Regions from separate parts of the Homo sapiens genome. Here region 1 is linked to region 2. The links are contacts of gene promoters, found by promoter capture Hi-C in human tissues and cell types (Jung and others, 2019). All regions are on one chromosome and are shown on one strand. Each heading gives the region's core, a stretch centred on a gene start or on the middle of the fragment in contact. The rest is flanking DNA. Distances are from core to core; before and after follow the strand shown. Region 1 overlaps LOC105371899 (a long non-coding RNA gene). Region 2 holds the start of MGAT5B (alpha-1,6-mannosylglycoprotein 6-beta-N-acetylglucosaminyltransferase B).

Region 1 (3,427 bases), core at 85-2,584, 99 kb before region 2:
AGGCTAATGAAATTACCTTCCTTGTAGGGACTTAGGAGTAAATGAGATGATCTGGGTATAGCCTTTGCAACAGTATCTGGAACTTAGGAATTGCTCAATAGGGGCCAGGCGCGGTGGCTCACGCCTGTAATCCCAACACTTTGGGAGGCCAAGGCGGGCAGATCACCTGAGGTCAGGAGTTCGAGACCAGCCTGGCCAGCAATGGTGAACTCTTGTCTCTACTAAAAATACAAAAAATTAGCCGGGCGTGGTGGCGCACGCCTGTAATCCCAGCTACTCAGGAGGCTGAGGCAGGAGAATCGCTTGAACCTGGGAGAGGGAGATGGCAGTGAGCCGAGATGGCGCCATTGCACTCTGGCCTGGGCGACGAGCGAAACTCCGTCTCAAAAAAAAAGAGAAAGTGCTCAATAGATGCTAGCCACAATTTTTGTTAATATTCTATCAGCGCTTCCCTGAGTGCAGATATCAAACCCACCACAGAGTGTACAGTGATCCTACTACAGAAATAGCCACTTACCGTGGGAGGGAGGATGAATTACTTAACCTCTGTGCTGCTGTTCTTGAGCATAAATAATGTACCTATTTTGCCTGGCGGGGTGGCTCATGCCTGTAGTCCCAGCACTTTGGGAGGCCAAGGCAGGAGGATCGCTTGAGGTCAGGAGTTCGAGGCCAGCCTGGGCACCATAGCAAGATCCCGACTCTACAAAAAGTAAAAAAATTAGTTGGGCCTAGTAGTGTGCACCTGTAGTCCCAGTTACTGAGGAGGCTGAAGTGGGAGGGCCACTTGAGCTCCTCAGCCTCCTGGTTGAAGCTGCAGTGAGCTGTGATTGGGCCACTGTACTCTAGCCAGGGCAACAGAGTGAGATCCTGTCTCTAAAAATAAAGTACCTATTTTGTGGGGTTACTTGGGGGACTGACAGATAACAGAGCTCAAGTGCTCTTTAAGGACTTTGAACCAGATTGCTGCATCCAAATCCTGGCCCCACCCCACCTAGCTGTGTGACCTTGGGCAAACTACTTAAAGTCGCTATGCCTCTGTTCCTCCTCGTAGCATGAGGGCATGTAGTAGTTCTCACTACTAGGATTATAAGGCATTGCTAGAGAATACTTTTTATAAAGGAGTATCATGGCTTCATCAAATAGAACAAACACGTGTCCATGGTTTTATTTAACTCATTAATTCACGAGGGATCCTGCAAGGTGCTACAACCAAGTTCAAAGGAGAATTCAAAGGGCACTCCTAAGTAGGCAGTCAGGAACATGGAAATGAATTTACAAATAGATGCAAAACTGGCCACAAGGCAGGAATCAATTGCATTCCATCCAAAGCTTCCTTCTTGGCACTGAGCTTGGGTGTGGGGACCCCTTGCCAGGGCTTCTGAGGCCAGAGCTCCTGGGGTCATCATGGCCTGTCCAGCCATCCCTTTTCAGGACCTGTCACCTTGTAGGGAGCCTCCTAGGACTGGGACACAGGTTCCCCCACCCTCCGAATCATCTGCCCTCAAAGCTCCAATCCTCTTCCTTTCTGGGGAACATTTAGTGACATTTTGTGAAACTGTCTCCCATTCTCCAAGCCTCAGAGCCGTCCCACCCTCAGAAGTTTATCTTCCACCCTCCTAGCCCTTAGGGGTGGATGAGAGAGGAGAGAGAGGGGAGAGAGGGGAGAGAGGGGAGAGAGGAGAGAGAGGAGAGAGAGGAGAGAGAGGAGAGAGAGGGGAGAGAGGGGAGAGAGGGGAGAGAGGAGAGAGAGATCTGAATTCGGATTCTTTTAAAGTGAGGACAAATGACACATTACCACGCTGGGAAATCATCCTGCCCCAAATGGTCACTACTTTAAAATGTTACCTTGCGTCTGTTCAGAGGGGGCTTCTCAGTTCACCCAGGAGGGAGAGACCCTCAGAACTCTGCCAGTCATCTTCTCAGGGAAGCCTTTCCTGTCCTCACCTCCCACCTCGTCCCAGCAGCCCGGCTCTGCGTTGCCAGAACTCCAGGGCTTAGCTCAGGCCCTACAGGTGTGGTCTGTCTGCCTGCAATGACCCAGGAGCTCCCTGAGGGCAGGGCTGGGTCTTCATCTCCCCACTGTCTGGCATCATCCTAGCAGGGATGGAGCTCAACACATAGCCCAGCCGAAGTCCCCCAGATGAATGAGCAAACCCTGAGTCTTGGTTGAGGCTTGGTTCATGCAGCAGGCTCGTGCCTTGGCCCTGGGAAAGCTCCCAGATGAGTTGGGCTGGGCAGAGGTGCAGGGCCCTCAGCCTCTGGCTTACCCCACTCTCTTCCACTTTACTCCACTCCACTCTCATCTCCTCGATCCACCCCACCTCTGCTAGTTAGCGAAGCTCCTTGGAGATTCCTCTTGAATTTTCATTAATTTCTATTGAATAATTAAAACCAGGAAATTAATACTTTCATCCTAAACCTGAATTGCAGTGTGTGGTTTTTCATAATTATAATTCCACTGTAGCATTAAATGTTCAAGTGAGCCATCCCTCTCCAGGGGCAGAGGGGACAAAGAGCCATGTCCTGGGGGCTTAAACACAGTATTTGGCTCAGGATAGGCACGCAATAATTACTTTTTAATGGATGGATGGATGGATACATGGGTGGGTGGAAACAAAGACCTTTCCAGGACCCAGCAACTGATACCCCAAAACATGGCGCTTTGACATGAGGTGGCCTCAAGGTCTCTCTGACCTCCCCCGCAGTCCTCTGTCTCTCTCAGAGCACAGGATGAAGCCGATCTCTGAAGTTTCCTTATCTACCCGGAAACCAGACCTGCCAAAGAAGGATGCAATTGCCTTCCCTGAGGCTTTTCTTTTCTTTTCTTTTGAGTTTTTGTCTTTTTGTTTTTTTTGAGACAGAGTCTCACTCGGTTGCCCAGACTGGAGTGCAGTGACGTGATCTCAGCTCACTGCAACCTCCGCCCCCCAGGTCCAAGCAATTCTCCTGCCTCAGCCTCCCAAGTAGCTGGGACTACAGGCACACGCCACCACGCCTGGCTTATTTTTGTATTTTTAGTAGAGACAGGGTTTCACCATGTTGGTCAGGCTGGTCTCAAACACCTGACCTCAAATGATCTGCCCGCCTTGGCCTCCCAAAGTGCTGGGATTATAGGGGTGAGCCACCACACCCAGCCACTTCCCTGAGTTTTCATTACCAACTCATATTGCAGGAAGAAAGACTGCTGTCTGTCAACACACCTAGGCAGACTTGACACACTGCTCTGTGGGCCCAACAGACTCTGTCCCAGGCCATTATATGTTCTCTAAGCCCACAGAATCCCCCTAAAAATCATTTATCCTCTTAAAACATCCTTCTTGAAATCATCCCCATTTTCCCACCTTCCCTTCCCCTATGACAAAAGGTACATAAGTATCTGTGCTGGACACAGTAGCTCATGCCTATAATCCCAGCACTTTGGGAGGCC
Region 2 (3,589 bases), core at 57-2,556:
CCCCGCCTCTCCGACGCCTGCGATCGGGGGCGAATCCTGGGATGAGCGAGTCCTCGCTCTAATCTCGGGACCCTCTCGTCGGAGCCAGGCCCGAGCCCCGCGGGGAGGAGAGCAGTGCCACCAAAGGCTGGGGAGAGGGTGGCACAGGCGGAGGGGTTGGGGGGTAGCCGACCTAGGGGCAGACGGGCGGGACGGGAGGGACCGGAGGGGGAGCTCCAAGGCGCCGCACACTAACTTTGCCACCCGGATGGGACCGTCCGCGGGGTGAGGAAGGACCCTGAGGGGCTGGGAAGGGGCGCGCAGGCTGGGGCAACTTTCTGGGCCCAGGACCACGACCTGGGGGTTTTCTGCCCCCATTCTTACCTCTGCACCCCGAGTCCTCTCCAACCCTGCCCAACTCGGGACAGGTCCCCGAATAACACAACCCTCCCCATCCGCACCCCGAACCCCAACGCCATCCGTTCCCCCAGCCCAGCCCCACTGGTCATCACCAGGGGTTGAAGTGTGAACCGCCCCCTCTGCCACCAGGACTTGAACGTTCGCAGGAACCGACCTCGCCCACCTCCACCCGGCGCCCCCCTGGGGAAAAAACCAACCAGGAGGGAACTTTACCGAAAGGGTCTCAGGGTGACCAGGCATCTTCTGACCATTATCTTCCCATCGGGGTTGACGGTGATCATTGTTCAAACTTGTTGGTGCGAGCAGCCGCGGGCGAGGCCGGACGCACCGTCCTGGGCCCAGCTCTCGCCGCGTCCGGGCCACGAACCCTCTGCGGGCCGAAGCCGCGTCCGAGCGAAGCTGGGAGCGCGCGGCCCGGTGGCCTCGCTGCTCAGGCCTGGGCGTGCAGCGGAGGGAGCGGCGCGGCTGCCGGAGGGCGGCGAGGGCGCCCGGCCGGGCCGTCTCTGCGTCTCCGCCCTCCCCGCTTCACATTTTGGGGACCGGGAGGCGGCGCGCCCCCAGACCGCCGGCCGCGCGTCTGCCTGCTCGGGCTCGCTCGCTGGGCGGGAAGGTGCCGCGGCGCGCAGACGGGCTCCCCGCGGCGGGCGCCCTCATCCCCGGCCCCGCGCCCTCGGTGCCGGCTAAAGGCGGCCCCGGGCCCGCGCCCCGGTCCCCAGCGCCTCCGGGCCGCGCCGATCCTCAGCCCCGCGCCGCGCCGCGCCCATGGCTCTCGACGAGGGCAACCCGCGCCCGCCGCGCGCTCTCTCGCCCGCTGGCTCCGCCGCCCGCGCTCTGGTGTCCGGCGTCCGGCCCCGCGCGACGCTACGCCCGGAGGCGCCGCATTGTTCCTCGGAGGAGGCGGCCGAGCGGCGCTGGGGCGGCCCGGGAGCTGCAGCTGCGCTTCCAAGGCGCGCCGGCGCCACCTCGTGGCCGCAGCCCCGCTGTGCGCCCTGCCCGGGGCCGTGCGGGGCTGGGACGCCGAGGACCAGCTTCGAGGACGGGCGGGCGGGGGTCCCTGCTCCTTCCCCTGAGCCAAGCAGCTTCCCAGGGCGCCACCAGCCCCGAGGGCCGAAAGCTGCTTTGGCTCCCGCAGAGCACAGAAGAGATGCGCACCCAGCGGAGACCCTTCTCTTCTGCCAGGTGCCTCCGTGGGCTTCCTCATCAGCCGCTTCCCACGATTTCGCTTGGCAACACATGCCTATCTTCTGCCCCTCCCTGGTCAGAAACTCCCGTGGCTCCTCTTTGCTTACTGATCTGAGTATAAACTCGGCCTGTGGTGCTGGGGCCCGCTCACAGAGCCAGGCGCAGGGGCGTACTGAGTTGTAGCCCCAGATCCTCCACTAGCCAGTGGGCGATCAAGTGTGCACGTCTCAGAGTCTCCATTATGAAATGATAGTGACCAGAAGCTCACCAAGGTCCCTTGCAACCCTAAAGCATGTAGGATCTCATGTCGTCTCTTAGCATCTAGGCGTCCTCCCCTCCCCCTCCTCGTACTTCCTGGCTCTGGAGATGTGTTTGCAGTTGCAGAGACAGAGACTCCTGGGAGCTCGCAGAGCCAGCCTGAAGAAAGCTCTCCGGCTTCAAAAGCACTTCCCGAGGTCATATCTGACCACCCCACCCTGGGAAGTGCCCAAAGCCTCAGTCATGTGTCAAATGACTCTGAGGGTCTTCCCAGCTCAGGCCACGATGCTGCAGCCTGGCTTATGCGAGGAGGAGACTTTATTTTCCTCCAGCTGGGCCTGGTCCCCTCCAATCCCCCATACCCAGGCCCCTTGCTGCCTGCCCTGCCCACCTCCCGGCCCCCTTCCTGGGCCATTACTCACTGGCCATGACTCACGCTCTCTGCTTTGCTGCTCCTTCTTCATCAAAATTTACCGGTGCTGAGTTCCATTATCTCACTGCCTTGCTCTCTGCTAATGTGAAAATGGGTGATAAATTGGTGTTAGCAGATATAATGTGTTACACAGGCTAGGTAACAAATTTGCATTGAACAAGGACATGCTGACCGTGCCTTTGTGCAGAAGAGTGATGAATGGTGGCCGGAAATTTGGGCATCGTGGCAGGCTGGCTAAGGAGATGTTGGAGGGCAGAGGTCTCTGCCAGGCCTGTAAATCACATCTCATGCCTGGGTGCCTACATCTGCCACAAATCCTGGCAATAAGCCATATCTACACTAAGGAATGAAATGGTCCTTCTGATTAGGTGTCTCTCTTCTGATTGGGGGTTCTTCTGATTGAGTAGGCTTAGGGGGTGGCATTTATATCTGGTTGCCATTTTAGGCCAAAGGGGAAGCCTCTTCCTCAGTGGTGGAGATGGGGTTCCCTAGAAGGCATGGCCACCTCTGGTGTGGGTCATCTGGGGAGGTGGCCTACCCTCCACAGAAGCCAGAATTTAGAAGGTAGGGGAAGGTACTCCCCTCTTCCCCTGGGCCACACACCCTTAGATCTGGACTTTGAAGTTGGAGCGGGAAAGCCTCTCTGCCATTTGACGGCTGGCTTGGGCCAGGGAGGGAAGCAAGCAGAGGACAGCCAGTGACTTTTTTTTTTTTTTTTTTTTTTTTTTGAGATGGAGTCTCGCTCTGTTTCCCAGGCTGGAGTACAGTGGCGCAATCTCGGCTCACTGCAAACTCCGCCTTTTGGGTTCAAGAGATTCTTCTGCCTCAGCCTCTTGAGTAGCTGGGATTACAGGCACGTGCCACGATACCTGTAATAAATGCCTATAAAAATGCAAAATTTTTGTATTTTTAGTAGAGACAGGTTTCGCCATGTTGGCCAGGCTGCTCTCAAACTCCTGACCTCAAGTGATCCGCTTGCCTCGGCCTCCCAAAGTGCTGGTATTACAGGCATGAGCCACTATGCTGGGCCAGCCAGTGGCATTTTGCAAGCCAGATTGTCCAGCTGCCTGTCCCTTTTGAAGTCTGTCCCCTTTTTTTGGCCTCTTGTCTGCAGTAAAGTTCAGTGTAAACAGTCCTGCTTGCTCTCCACTGTGCTGTAGGCATTAGGAGAAAAACTGTGAATCCCACATCATGCAGTCTTGGGTATAACCTCTTCATGCCTCAGTTTCCTCAACTATAAGTGGGGCTCCTTATAACCTGCTTCATAGAGCTGTTCTGAGGATTGAGCCGCTTAATGCAGGTAAGTAGCCCGTTGCC

The links. The method cuts DNA at HindIII sites, captures the fragments that hold promoters and counts their contacts. A contact is called where the count stands out against the background at its distance.
Region 1: a fragment that was not itself captured here is called in contact with the fragment with the promoter of MGAT5B in region 2 in 2 of the 25 tissues and cell types used here (adrenal gland and dorsolateral prefrontal cortex).

What each region holds. Positions count from the first base shown.
Region 1 is chr17:76,965,273-76,968,699 of GRCh38, reverse strand. All of the region lies in intron 1 of LOC105371899 (a long non-coding RNA gene), which reads left to right. Among named protein-coding and RNA genes, the nearest start is that of MGAT5B, 99 kb to the right of the region's middle. The HindIII fragment of the contact is 4,995 bases long and covers 1-3,427 here.
Region 2 is chr17:76,866,121-76,869,709 of GRCh38, reverse strand. It overlaps MGAT5B (alpha-1,6-mannosylglycoprotein 6-beta-N-acetylglucosaminyltransferase B), which reads right to left and starts at 1,306. Exons shown (of 18, transcript NM_001199172.2): 1 at 613-1,306. The coding sequence starts at 680. RefSeq lists a silencer at 1,162-1,471 and an enhancer at 1,809-2,103. The HindIII fragment of the contact is 29,656 bases long and covers 1-3,589 here.